Regions from separate parts of the Homo sapiens genome. Here regions 2, 3, 4 and 5 are each linked to region 1. The links are contacts of gene promoters, found by promoter capture Hi-C in human tissues and cell types (Jung and others, 2019). All regions are on one chromosome and are shown on one strand. The core of a region is centred on a gene start or on the middle of the fragment in contact, and the rest is flanking DNA. Distances in the headings are between cores, read along the strand shown. Region 1 holds the start of CCDC146 (coiled-coil domain containing 146). Region 2 has its middle 12 kb from the start of GSAP. Region 3 has its middle 19 kb from the start of POMZP3. Region 4 overlaps GSAP (gamma-secretase activating protein). Region 5 holds the start of PTPN12 (protein tyrosine phosphatase non-receptor type 12).

Evidence for each region. Contacts are between HindIII fragments. The study calls those that stand out against the background at their distance.
Region 2: a contact is called between a fragment that was not itself captured here and the fragment with the promoter of CCDC146 in region 1, in 2 of the 25 tissues and cell types used here (H1 embryonic stem cells and hippocampus).
Region 3: a contact is called between a fragment that was not itself captured here and the fragment with the promoter of CCDC146 in region 1, in 1 of the 25 tissues and cell types used here (H1 embryonic stem cells).
Region 4: a contact is called between a fragment that was not itself captured here and the fragment with the promoter of CCDC146 in region 1, in 1 of the 25 tissues and cell types used here (small bowel).
Region 5: the fragment with the promoter of PTPN12 here is called in contact with the fragment with the promoter of CCDC146 in region 1 in 1 of the 25 tissues and cell types used here (hippocampus).

The regions. Positions count from the first base shown.
Region 1 is chr7:77,121,202-77,123,901 of GRCh38, forward strand. It overlaps CCDC146 (coiled-coil domain containing 146), which reads left to right and starts at 1,414. Exons shown (of 19, transcript NM_020879.3): 1 at 1,414-1,531. It also overlaps the pseudogene FAM185BP. RefSeq lists enhancers at 203-704, 705-1,204 and a silencer at 1,100-1,199. The HindIII fragment of the contact is 9,649 bases long and covers 1-2,595 here.
Region 2 is chr7:77,426,643-77,429,342 of GRCh38, forward strand. No RefSeq gene overlaps it. Among named protein-coding and RNA genes, the nearest start is that of GSAP, 12 kb to the left of the region's middle. RefSeq lists an enhancer at 530-1,226. The HindIII fragment of the contact is 3,109 bases long and covers 1-2,700 here.
Region 3 is chr7:76,644,443-76,647,142 of GRCh38, forward strand. No RefSeq gene overlaps it. Among named protein-coding and RNA genes, the nearest start is that of POMZP3, 19 kb to the left of the region's middle. The HindIII fragment of the contact is 3,357 bases long and covers 1-2,700 here.
Region 4 is chr7:77,402,786-77,405,485 of GRCh38, forward strand. It overlaps GSAP (gamma-secretase activating protein), which reads right to left. Exons shown (of 31, transcript NM_017439.4): 3 at 1,774-1,830. Among named protein-coding and RNA genes, the nearest start is that of GSAP, 12 kb to the right of the region's middle. The HindIII fragment of the contact is 3,186 bases long and covers 1-2,700 here.
Region 5 is chr7:77,535,959-77,538,658 of GRCh38, forward strand. PTPN12 (protein tyrosine phosphatase non-receptor type 12) reads left to right here and starts at 1,337. Exons shown (of 18, transcript NM_002835.4): 1 at 1,337-1,687. The coding sequence starts at 1,589. It overlaps LOC124901681 (a long non-coding RNA gene), which reads right to left and starts at 991. Exons shown (of 3, transcript XR_007060395.1): 1 at 413-991; 2 at 1-323. RefSeq lists enhancers at 417-466, 637-856 and silencers at 927-1,226, 1,477-1,686, 1,827-1,876. The HindIII fragment of the contact is 12,054 bases long and covers 1-2,700 here.

The sequences.
Region 1 (2,700 bases), core at 164-2,663:
CGCCCGTCTAAAACCAAATACTCAAACCAGGTGGTACCTGGAACATCCTATTGACAGGGCTGTTTTGGGACACACCCCCAGGCTGTGAGCAAGGGGAAATGTAGATGGACTGCCATACCATTGAATGAATTGTCAAGAAACTTCAACCTTGAAAAATAAGCCAGTTTGCTAATGACAACGGGATAAAGAAGAACACAAGCGGCTCCAGAAATAGAATTTGACCTGGATTATACCAAATCGTGTTTCCATTCGATGTATAAAATTTCTATAATTGGGAACCTAATTTTTTAAATACTACTCGGATACTCAAGAATAGAACAGAGGAAAAGTTGCATTTCCGAAGGGGCCAACTGTAAATTAGGTTTAGAAAGCCAGGACCAATTAAAAGTGCACGTCGACCAAATTTATTAAGTTCACTGTGCGTTCCCTGGGACCCAAACCCGTTTTCACTTCACTTCACTTGCCAAACTTCAGGGGCGCGTTCACCTCCACGGACGCCTGGGGGTGGATAGTATCAGACACAATGGCCATCTCCTCCAGATCCTCGTCGTACTTCACCTGCAGGCCGTCCAGGCCCCGCACGCCGCCCTCCACGCCGCACACCGCGACCAGCACGCGGTCGCCATCCGGGTAGGTGAGGGGGTCCAGGGGCCTCACGGCCAGGTGGCACGGGAGCCGCGCCCGCAGCCGACCGAACGGGCTCACCTGCAGTGTCCACTCCTTCAGAGTTCGGCGCGCCGGGCCAGGCGGAGGGACCTCAGTCTCCGATCCGGGCCAGCGCTCGCCCCTACCTGAGCTGTACGGCCTGGCTTGGCAAGCCCAGCAAGACCAGCGCCCAGCGCCAGCCCACAGTCGGACCTGACGGAGACAGAGACGGAAGCAGCCAAGCTCCCAACCTGAACAGGGGGCAAGCATGGCGCGCCTCTCTCGCCAGTCCTCAGAACACTTCAGCCACAGGGAGGGTCACTTGCCACGGCCAATCGACTTGGCCACTGTGCCGCCTCAAGTCAAATAGGAGACGTAAGTCAGGGTTTGCTGAAACAAGAGCGAGCCGGTTGGCTTGACTAGGCGATGTAAACATCAGCTGCGTAATCCCCAGGGGCAAGTTGGGATTTGAAAGCTCTGAACTCTGACCTGGACCCCTTGCCTAAGTCCACCCCCTTTCGCTAAGGCCGACGGGATACGTAGTTCTAAAGCGGTGGAAAGTCGCAGAGCTCCGCCTCTTAGAAACCACATATCCCAGGAGGCAATGCGCAGGGGAGCACGGGTAAGAGGGCAGGTGTTAGAATCGCTGGAAAGGCGGGCGCCCTTTGTTTCAAGACCATTGGCTATTGGAGGGGCGGTACATGGGAGGCCACTGGCCAATGGGAAGCACGGAAGGGGGCAACGAGGGTAAAGCTGCATGGTCACCTTGGATACCAAGGACGCGACTTCTTGTTTGGAGAGGGTGGAGCTTTGGAGTGAGACCCAGGAGGCCAAATCCCAAAGAGAAAAATAGGAGCCTAAATAAGGATCAGGACCAAGGGAAGGGGTAAGAAACTGCGCTTTTTAAGTTGACAACTAGGTGCAAACTAGGAGTAACCTATGTGGATGTCAAGATCCAAGCTTCACTAACCTAGTGCGGGCATCTCCAGGGCATGGAGAATGCCTTGGTAAGAGAGTAAAGAGCAAGATTGGTGCTTTTTGAGGGAATTGCCTCTTTGGAAGTGTATTCCCTCCTATATTCCAAATATAGGAATAGAGTACTTGCTCCGTCCTGACCCTAAGTGACCTTACTTTGGGTTTTAATTTGCTCACTTTAAAAATGTAGATGATAATACCTTCCTTGCCTTGCCTCAAAGGGTTTTTGTGAGGATCAAGTAAGAAAATGGATGGGACCGTGGTGCACAGTCTACCAAATTACCGTGTAAAGTACTGTATTTTTATTTCAACGTACTTAACATTGATTCTGAGTTACCAAGAAAATTATGAGAGATCAGAACTTGTTTTGAGAATAGCATTGATCTCTTTGACTACAAATGATCATCAGTTTTAGAGTGAAAAAAAAAAAGACACAAAAAAGAGAGTCACCATGGTGCGGTGGAAAGAGCAGGGACAAGGGTCAGATTATTTTCCTGGCTCTGCCACTGCTTCATCTGTGTCACCTAGACCTGTTTCTTTAGTTTTAAAATGAAGAAAGATGGTTCTAAATGACCCTATAAGGTGTGTGTGTGTGTGTGTGTGTGTGTGTGTGTGTGTGTGTGTGTGTGTGTGTGTTTACCTTTTATAATTCTATGGGCAGTAAAATAATGGGAACAGAAAGATTTATTTTCTTCTTTTTTTCTTCTTTCCTGCCTGGTTTCTCTCTCCCCCTCTGTGCCCCTACTTCCTCCTAAAATGTATTCCCTAAATTATTTAGCCAAGACACCTGCAAACACTAACATTTCATAAAATGCAAGTGCCTTAAAAAATTGAAGCCCTTACCCAAGTACAATGACCAGAATTCTTGGGGCTATCGTGATAGATAGACTGGGCTAAAGTTCTCATGGGTACAAGTCTCAGGTTCTCTGCTAGCCACTACCTTTTTAAAATTTTTAAAAATTCAGTGTTCTCTTAAGTTATCATTGCCTCTTTTCTGTCCTTCTAGTCCTTGCTCCCTCCTTATTCTTCTTTCGGTGAAGACTCACTCATTATAGGTGCTAGCTCAGGTTCAGCAAGGGC
Region 2 (2,700 bases), core at 78-2,577, 310 kb after region 1:
TGTCACCTTTCTCTTCAGGGCCTCCAGCTTTCCAAATGTCCATCTAATCTGTGTCCACCCCCGGGAGCAGATAGTAGTTTCCCGTGTTCTTTGATAGTATCAAAACTTTGTCACTTAAGAAAAAGCCTGATATTTACACCAGGTTGGCCAAATGCTCAGCTGAGTCTCAAGAGGGTAAAGAATTTCAGGCATTTAAAAAAAAAGAAAAGAAAAAGGCCAGCAATGGAGTCATGTATTTAGTACTTGACTCAGAGTTAACAGGCCTGGATTCTTGAGGCAGCCCTGGCATGAACAGGCTCTGTGACCTTAGGCAAGTTGCTTAACTTTTCTGAACTTGGTTTTCTCATTTGTAAAATAAAAGAAGTTGAACTATGATCCCCAAGGCCCCATTTGCTTAACAGTGCTGATTCTTAACTACAGTAGCAATAAGATCATCAAAAAAATTCACTTCCCAATCCCTGTCACCAAGTTCATATGCAGAGAGACAGAGGGGCTTAGGAGAAAACTGCAACCTAGTAACCAAGGAAACATGAAAATTTTAACAGTGAAAGACATCCTGTGTAGCAAATTCTACAAAGTGAACCAGGAAAATAGAATTAAGGATGAAGAAATAGGCTGGGCGCGGTGGCTCACGCCTGTAATCCCAGCGCTTTGGGAGGCTGAGACAGGTGGCTCACAAGGTCAAGAGATCGAGACCATCCTGGCCAACATGGTGAAACTCTGTCTCTACTAAAAATACAAAAATTAGCTGGGTGTTTTGGCACGTGCCTGTAGTCCCAGCTACTTGGGAGGCTGGGGCAGGAGAATTGCTTGAACCCGGGAGACGGAGGTTACAGTGAGCCAAGATTGTGCAACTGCACTCCAGCCTGGTGACAGAGCAAGACTCCGTCTCAAAAAATAAAACAGGAAATAGTAGGGAGAGTTTTCAGAAACTCTCCTCTACTCCCCAACTTACCCTCAAAAATCAAATTGTAGGTTTCCCCACAGATCTCTGGAAAAAAATGCTTGATAGTTCTCTGGGGTAAACCCTTCTATTTGATCTAAGATTCAGGTAGTGTTAACTTTTGCTTCAAATGCCTTAGTCAAGATTGCTTTTACTGTTAGAAAAATCCTAACTCCTTACATACTGATTATATGCAATCTAGGTAAGTCAAGCCTTCTGCCCTGTCTGCCATTCAGAAGTCTCTTTCATGTATGTAGCTGAATAGTAATCTCATAAAATAATATTGGAATGAATAAAGACCCAGATGTCTCAGGTCATTCCATCCACGCAGTTTCCTCTTTCTCCTTCCTATATTTACATATTAATTTTAAGTCACAGGTGAAAATTAAAGCTTGCTGTCTCTCAGTCTCTCTTTGATATTGCAAAGAAATGTTACAAAGCTTCCTAAGGGAAGGTTTCTTGCAGGAAATAGTGACTCCCAGTATGATTAGTCCCCAAATCTGCCTGCTAGGCTGAGTGAAGAGGACTGAAATGCTCTGTGGGTCACAAGGTCATAAACCTCAGGAATCTGGCCACACTGTCAGGCATTCTCCGCCAAGGACTGGGGGATGTGGGTTCCTATTAGAAGCCAGGTCACCACCAGCTGAAATTGAAACATACATCATAGTCACATCCTGTTTAAGTGAAAACTAACTTCTATTTCCTGGAATTGCTTTTTGTCTGAGGAGAGGGAGTGATTGGGGTGTAGTTAAGGGTAGCTAAGGTGCATGTCATCCCTTGGAATGGGAAGCACGCAGGTTAACGGGGGATGTGGGGACTGCCCTGGAGCATCTTGTCTCTCAGCCATCTCTAGCTCACGTCTCACCCTCCCTTGTTCACCTCTCCCAAGTTCTCGAGTGAGCATTCTGGGCACAGGGAGGTCAAGAGGAAAATGGGGGAAAGTAGTGGGAAGGGTAAGTGAGATGAGAGATGGTAATGATAGAGATCAAATCCTTTTTAGGCCTCCTGTCCCTTGTTTTTCCATCTTGGAGATAGGCTCAAGCTCCGAAATTGAGGGCTACAAGAGCAATAGAGAGAAGCTTTGCTTTCATGGCTGGCACAAAATATGAACCACAAGTTAGAATATCTCCTATTTGAGCATTTATCTGGAATGAGCTCTGAATCCCAGAGGAGGAGTTTCTCCTCCAAGATACAAGTCCTGAACTGGCTCAGAAAGAGAAGCACCCTCTAACGAGTTGGTGGGATAAGCTTTGCGCTGTTTGTGATCAGCCACTCCCCGTACTGCCCACAGGCTGGCCCGCCCGTCCCAACCTTGCTATCACCCTGTGGAATGCCAATTCTAAGAGGCACTTGTATAGAGGGCTTATTAAAACACTGATTGCTAGGCTCCACCCCACAGCTTCTGATTTGCGTCTCTAACAAGTTCCCACGTGATGCTGATGTTGATGATGCTGAACCACACTTGAGAACCACTAGCCCAGCACATCGTAGGCATTTAACCAACATTTGTCGTTCATTTCACAATGGGAAGTCAAGGATGAGTGCTGCGGAACTGAAGAAGATAGGAACCATCTCATTCTGGATCTCTGAGTTTAGAAGTATTTGTTGCATGTTTCCTGCTTCCCACACTGTTCATGCAATTTTAGCAATTTTCAGGAAACAGCTGTTGCTTTCCACCTTGAGAGACAATGAAAACTTAATAATAGGTAAAACGACATTTTGGAAGAAACTGACGTACCTTATATATCTGGGACAGC
Region 3 (2,700 bases), core at 164-2,663, 480 kb before region 1:
GCAGAGGGGCCTAGAAAGCAGTAGAGTTTCTACATTCCACTTGAATTGGTAAAAGGTTGATACTAGCCAATGATCATAAGTATGTATAATATAATCTCTACAGCCACCTATAAAATCCTATACAAAAATATATACTAAATGGCATACTGAATTGATTTAGCACGGCATATGAAGTTAAATGGCATACTAAGAAATGTCTAAGTACCCCATAAAAAGGCAAGAAAAGGGAAACAGGTATAAAAAAACCCAGAGGGAACAAGTAGAAAATAGATAATAAAAACCCGTCCAAAATTAAATATAAATCTTCTAAACACAGCAATCAAAAAGGTTGTTGGAATCTGTTTTTTTAAAAATGACTCATGGCCAAGTGTGGTAGCTTATGCCTATAATCCCAGCACGTTAGGGGGCCGAGGCGGAGGGAATCACTTGAGCTCAGGAGTTTGAGACCAGCCTGGGCATGATAGCGAGACCCCATCTCCACAAAAAGAATAAGAAAAAAAAAAGATTAGCCAGGCATGGTGGCACACACCTATAGTCCCAGCTACTCGGGAGGCTGAGGTGAGAGAATCACTCAAGCCCAGGAGGTCAAGGCTGCAGTGGGCCGTGACTGCACCACTGCACTCCAGCCAACAGAGTAAGACTCTGTCTCAATAAATAAATAAATATCAATAGTCACATAAGATGGCAGAGTAGGAAGCTGTAGTGTAGAGATCAGTCCCTTCACTGAAGCAACCACTGAGCTAGAAAGAGTGATTGGAATCAGCTCTTTTGGAATTCTGAAACATGACCAGGAACTCCTAACAACCAGAGACATACTTAAACAATGAAGAGAGAGGCTGCTGATCTTCACGAGTGAGTGGCATGTGCCAACCAGCCAACACTCCCCCATTCCTGAGCCTGAGTTCCCGAAGCAGCTGGCTGATGCCAGGGCGAGCAGCAGAACTCTGTCCTCCAAAACCGTGGGTTCTGCACCTTGGTGGGTCCAATGGGTCTCTGAGGACCAGCCCGGATGCTTGCCTTGGTTTATTTGGCCCTCTCAGCAACAGTGGCTTCCCCAGGGACATCCTTCAGAAGATTTTATTAAAGAGACAAAATCCTCCTCTGCCCCACCCCATTTAAAGCCACCTATTTAAGGAAATCCATGTTAGGTGGCTGGCTGACTGCAGAGATAATGAAACAAATTTCAGTGACCACACAAGCACAAGGAAGAAACACTTTGCAAAAATAGTTTGGAAAAGTAACAAAAGGGGAGCTCCAGACCTCAACAAGCAAAACCCAGCAATCCCAGGTGTCTGAGAGAATCACATTTTGAGGGTCATTACATTGTAACACTTAAAATGCAACGTTCTCAACAAAAAACTACAAAATATACAAAGAAACAGGAAATAGGAAGCTTAGACCATTCACAGGAAAAAAACAGCAAAGAAAATCAGCAAACAATACAATAACTGAACACCATCATCGACCAATGGAACCTAACTGACATTTACAGGAGACTTCACACACCAACAGCAGGGTACACATTCTTTGCCCATGGAAGATTCAGCAAGATTTACCAGAACCTGGGTCATAAAACAAATGTTTTTCTGAGATGGAGTCTCTTTCTGTCACCCAGGCTGGAGTGCAGAGGTGCAATCGGCTTACTGCAACCTCCGCCTCCTGGGTTCAAGCAATTTTCCTGCCTCAGCTTCCAAGTAGCTGGGATTACAGGCATGCACCACCACGCCTGGCTAATTTTTGTGTTTTTCAGACGGGGTTTTGCCATGTTGGCCAGGCTGGTCTCAAACTCCTGACCTCAGGTGATCTACCTGCCTCGGCCTCCCAAAGTGATGGGATTACAGGTGTGAGCCACCATGCCCGGCCAAAACAAATCTTAAGAAATGTAAAATAACTGAAATCATACAAAATATGTTCTGTGACTGTAAAATAATTAAACTAAATCAATTTAAAAAAGAAACCAGAAAATCTCTAAACACATGGAAATTAAATACACTTCTAAATAATTCATGGGTCAAAGAGTGAGTCGCAAGGGAAACTGGAAAACATATTGAATTATGTAAAAGTGAAAATATAACATGTTGACTGGTATCAGCAAAAATGGCAGAGTAGGTATCTCCAAGTCCCCATCCCCCCACAGAAACATTGATAAACCAAGCAAAACTGTCTGAATCAACTTCATGAGAACTGTAGAAAAATAATCAAAATAATCAAAGGTTTACAATAACCAGATCATCTGATGTGGCTCTTTGTCCCCAAGCACATCTCATCCTGAATTGTAATCCCCAGGGGTCAAGGAGGGACCTGGTGGAAGGTGACTGGATCACGGGCGCGGTTTGCCCTATGCTGTTCTCGTGATAGTGAGGGAGTTCTCACGAGATCTGATGGTTTTTAAGTGGCAGTTTCCCCTGCACTCTCCCCTCTCTCCTGCCAGCCAGTGAAGAGGGTACTTGCTTTCTTGTTAGCTTTCCACCATGATTGTAAGTCTCCTGAGGCCTCCCCAGCCAAGTGGAACTGTGAGTCAATTAAACCTCCTTTCTTTATAAATTACCCAGGCTCAGGCAGTTCTTTCCAGCAGTGTGAAAACTGACTAATACTCCAAATGAACACTGAATCAAGAAAAAAGCAACTTCAAAATGGTAGGAAAACTGGGTTATTTTACTTGCCCTTGCCCCACAACCTTCCATGGTTCAGTGGGAACCT
Region 4 (2,700 bases), core at 45-2,544, 280 kb after region 1:
TTTGCCTGTTTACAAAGCTAGTTTAAATTTCCTATTAATTTATCCTTTGGCCAATTTATTTTCTGGACTAACTTTCACATTTTGGAATTCAAAGCACCTTTGTCACTGGAAAATTTTTGAAAAACAGCCACTCTGGAGGGAACCTATCACTATCAATCCAGTGAAAAACATTCACTGTACTCCTACCACTCACAGGCAGTAAGCTAAAGGTAACGGGGATAAAACACATTGGTATGCAAAGTGCTCCTACTGTCAAGTGCTCACAGTCTTGGGAGAGAGGAATATGACCACAAAAGATAGCAGCAGTCACCACAACTGGATTGACAGAAGACAGACTATGATGTCTCCTCTCAATCCACCTTTTTAGAATACATGCCACACAGAAATTAAGCTAACAATTGCACTGAAAACTTGAGATTTTATTCTCTTTCCCTAGACTGTGTATTGTGAGTTTATGTTGATCATCACTGTGTCTCCAGCACCTGACAGGGAAAACACTCAATGCTTATTTGTTGGATCAGTGAATGGGTGAATGAATTAATGAATAAAGGTGAAAGGGGTGGAAGAAGGGAAGAGAGAATTAACCAAGCAGCGTATTGGAACCCTGAAGAGTAAGGTGACCTGTAAAAAATTTGTAATGGATAAAGGACATTTAAGTTCAAAGATGTCTAATATTCAATTCTAAATTGTTTTTACATAGGTACAAAATTACTCCCTCCCATTTGCTCCCAGAATTAGACAAAGCCTGTCACATCAACCAACGCCTTATGTGAGTAATTTGGGGAAAAAAATAAGGAAAGGGGTTCCTTGTCTGGATCACTAAGAAATAATGAGAAACAAGACATGTGAAGGTTAAGCAGAAGCAGAAAGAGTCAGAGGTCATTATAGGATGACCTGGGAGTACACAAATCTCAAGAAGGACATTGGACCTCCTACTTTCTTAGAGGATATTGAATAATTTGTTTGAGCCAATTTTACTTAAATCTCAAAGGTCTAAGAGACCTCACCTCACTTTGTGGTCCAATAGTCCTTGCATTTTTTGTTTAGGATAACAGGACCAAGAGATCGTTAAGGGAGAAGAGAAGGAAAGCAAAGAAATATAATTTTTTAGAAAATAAAGTTGGTATTCCCACTCCTAGATACACACACAAAAGAATTAAAAAATACCTATGTATACAATAGTGTTCATAATAGGCAAATATTAGAAACAGGTGTCCATCAACAAATAAATGAATAAAACTGTTGCATGTACTGTGATAACTGATTACAAGAACTGGAGTTATTCTGTCATACTCAATCGAGTTAAATCAAGAGATCAGGAGAGGAAAAAAGCAGCACACAGGGCACAAGGGCCTGCCCAGGTATTGTGCAAGCCAGCTGCCAAAATGACCAAATGCCATAAACTTAAGAACAGCTTCACCTAGTAGCTGCTGAAACAAACTGCCATGGCTCTAAAACTAGTTTTACCTACTGCTTTCCCACACCGATGAGATCTGCCAGCTCCTGGAAACTTTCCTATTGCCAATGAGTTTTCTTTCAAAGCCATGTGTAACATTTCTCTTTCTGATAAAACCCCCAACCTTTCTTAGTTCTTTGGACATACCAAAGACTACCCTGGTCTGTGTGTATGCCTCAAATTGCAATTCTGTTTTTTCAAATAAAATGTTTACAGAAAAAGAGAAAATAAAGTTGGAATTTATATCTAGAAAAAGGAGGAGACAAAGAAAACTCTAAAGGCAGTAAAGTAACCAATGAGTAATCTATGATTTTTACCTCATTTTGTCTGGTTTGACAATCATATAATCCAAAGACGACATTTCCCTTATCATCCTAAAAAAAATTAACCAGATGTTTATTAAATGTCATTGTTTAGGAAGTTAGAATGTTACTAGTTTTAAAACCAACCTGCAATAACTCAATCTTAGCAGTAAGCACTCTAAAAGAAGCTTTCTGTGCCTGTCAGAGGGGGACTGAATCCAGTTCAGCTAGTCATTTGGGCTCAAAGAATGAAATGGATCAACAGTGTAGAGCTCAGTGAGTTTGGGGAACTGTCTAGTAGGACTGAGCATGGTGGGCGTAAATCTTTTTATACTTCCACTTATGTCTTTGAAAACACACACATATGATAGATAATAGGGATGACTAGGACAAGTCCGTAACATTCTTATAAGTAAAACATTGTGAATCACACAATTCCTTAAAGGTACCATTCTAAGACACAACTTAAAATAATTATTTTTACTTTAAAAAGTACAGTGATATAACTGTGCAAAGCAAACTGGCCATTTGAATTATTCATGTGTGCTTATTATAGTAAAGTTAAATTTTCCTTAGAACACTTGACATTGAAAACACATTGTTAAATAACATGCTTCACATGCCTATAGTCCTAGCTACTGGGGAGGTTGAGGCAGGAGCTCAAGGAACCTACTTGAGCCCATGAGTTTGAGGCTGCAGTCAGCTATGATTGTGCCACCACACCCCAGCCTGGGTGACAGGGCAAGACTCTGTTTCTAAAAACAAAATAATAATAATGCTTCGAAAGTCCTAACATATCTACGTCTGAAGAGAGTAATCATATTTAATATTTTCTCCAATGATAAAATGTTAACATATTAATTAGGTTTAAACATTTTTACTTGGCATTTTTTGTCTAGAAAATGAAATTGTTCATTGATTCAAAATTTGAGTATTATGTCA
Region 5 (2,700 bases), core at 87-2,586, 410 kb after region 1:
GAATATATTCTCTGATAGAAGTTTACAAAGATGAATAAAGATTTATAGGCTAGGCGCGGTGGCTCACGCCTAAAATCCCAACACTTTCGGAAGCTGAGGATCCCTAGTGCACAGGAATTCGAGATCAGCCTGGGCAACCTGGTGAGACCCCCTTCTCTACCAAAAATAAATAAATAAATAAATAATAAATTTTTAAAATGTATTAGCTGGGCTTGGTGACGTAGTGAGGCAGGAGGATGCCTTGAGCCCAGGAGTTCAAGGCTGCAGCGAGCCGTGATCATAGCACTGCACTTTGGCATGGGAGATAGAGCAAGACCTTAGCTCTAAAAAAAAAAAAAAAAAAAAATTAATAGATTTATAAAGTCCATTCTATGGAGGAAAGTCTCTTATTCAGTTATGAACTGCTGCGAACCTAAAGGCAGGAAGGCAAATTCCCTTCAGTTCGGCAAACACGAAGACCCCACATTCGCGTCGTCTGTGAAGAAGGCACTCCGAACCTCAGGCGCTCACTCGCCAGGTTTAAGAGGATGAGCAAAGAATAAAAGTCCTCTCACCCAGGAAGCGTTTCGCTTCCCTTAGCTGGAGCCACGCTCCAAGGTGCCAAAGCCTAATTGCTGTCCACTCTCACCAATCCGTTAGCAAGATGAGCATCTACCTGCTGCGAACGTGGCGGTGACACTACTACAGCTCCCAGCCTGCCTCCCGCCCGCCCCCACTCCTGGACTCCACAGACCGTGACTTGTAGTCCCAGCCCACGGCTGGCGGCGGTGCGGGACTCCTGAAAACTGCTTTTCCTCCCTAGTAGGCGGTGAGACCGCAAATTCCATCAGAATCCTACTCTGACCCACTAGGGCTTGGCCCGCTCAGAGTCGCATTCCCTCCTCCAAATGAACCAACTCTCCTCCCAGCGATACTCCGACCTCTGAGCACCCCGGGCGGGGCCACGCCCCGGAAATGGAGTCAGGTCTCCAGGCCGCCCGCTGAAGTGCCTTCCAGCCACTCCAAGCGGGGCTGGGGCCGGCGGGGCGGGCTTGGGGGCGTGGCCGGGAGGCGGGCGGGGATGCATCTGCGGGCGCAGCGCTTGGGGCGGAGCCGCAGCGCGAGGCCGCGCATCTGGGTGGCGGCGGGGACGCGCCCGTGGGGAGAGGCGGCTGCGGCTGCGGCTGCGGCTGCTGGCGGGGGGTGGGGGGGAGGAGGAACCGGGAAGGGGGGGCAGGGCGAGCGGAGAGCTAGCTGTGTTCCTGAGGCGGCGGCGGCGGCGGCGGCGGCGGCGGCGTCTCCGACGGAGGAGGAGGGCGGGGAAGGAGGATGGAGCAAGCTGGGGGTTGGGGTTGGCGCTAGCGCAGCGGCTCGCCTGGTACTGTGGGAGAGCGGCGGCTGCTCCTGGAAGTTGTGGTGTCGGGAGCCCAGCCGGTGCCGCCGCAGCCGCCGCCTAGGGCGGTGGGGAGGAGGAGGGAGCCGCGGGGCTTGGCGGGGTCGGGAGGGAGGGACGTGCTGGGGGAACGAGCTGGGGAAGACGGAGCGGGCTCTGTGCCGGGCGGGCGGGCGGCGGGGGGGCCAGCGACCGCAGCCGGGGGGACGCGGGAGGATGGAGCAAGTGGAGATCCTGAGGAAATTCATCCAGAGGGTCCAGGCCATGAAGAGTCCTGACCACAATGGGGAGGACAACTTCGCCCGGGACTTCATGGTGAGTCTCTCCCCTCGCTGTCGCGTTTTCTTGCCGGCGCCGGAGCCCATCGCCGCCTCTCCCGGCCGGGCCGCCAGTGCTTTGTGTACCTCTGTGAGGAGAGGGGCGGAGGGGGCGCGCACCAGCCGGGTGAGCCGGGTGGTCTCGGAGGCCAGCGGGAGGCGAGAGCGCCTCCCCCCGTGGCCTCCTTTCTTCTCCCATGTTCGCGACCCCCGCGCGGGTTCCCGGGACGCGAAGGGAGCGGCCGCGCGGCCGAGCCCGCAGCCTGCACCGTGGCTCGCGACCACCTATTGTTTACCGGGCCGGGAGCCGTAGGCAAGTGAGGTGCAGGCCGGGGGGGGGGGCTCGCGTTTCCACACCTCCCCGCGCAGTTCGCTCCTCCCAGGAGGGTCGAGGCAAGGTATCTGGCTGTGACCGGGAGGAGTGCAGATCGTGGCTGACAGAGGAACGGGGGTATTGAGGTTGGCACTAACTCCTGGGATCCCTTTGCTCTAGCTGGTCTCAAAGCGGGCAGGGTAGGACTTAGGCCGTTTCTGGGGTCGCAGTCATGATCTCCAACGCTTGGGAAAGGATTGCCCATAAGGAATCTCATGGGTTTACCTAATTTCCATTTACCCGCGTCCCGCTTCTCCTCTCCTGAGGCCCAGGTTTGAGGTGGTCTTGGGGTCCGTGTGACTATAGGTTCAGGGGATAAGTGTGGGTGGGGGAATTATCCTGAAGGAAGCCAGCCGACTTCGGACTCCCCAGGGGATATTGCCGAAGGCGGAGGGGATGTGACTATCACTTCCTATCCGGGGTGGGGGTGGGGAACTTGGGAACAATAGTCCTGGTGGGGCGGAGGCGACGCTACGGGCCGAAGCCCTGAACTGGGAGATAACCTTCCCAGCGCCCCCCCGCCTCCGCCACCCCCTACTTTCCGCCCTCTGCTTGTGCAGGCAGTCTTGAGAGGAGGTGAAGGTTAAAAGTCTTGTTCATGAAATTGCTCTAGATACACTATTGCTTTAGCACACTGT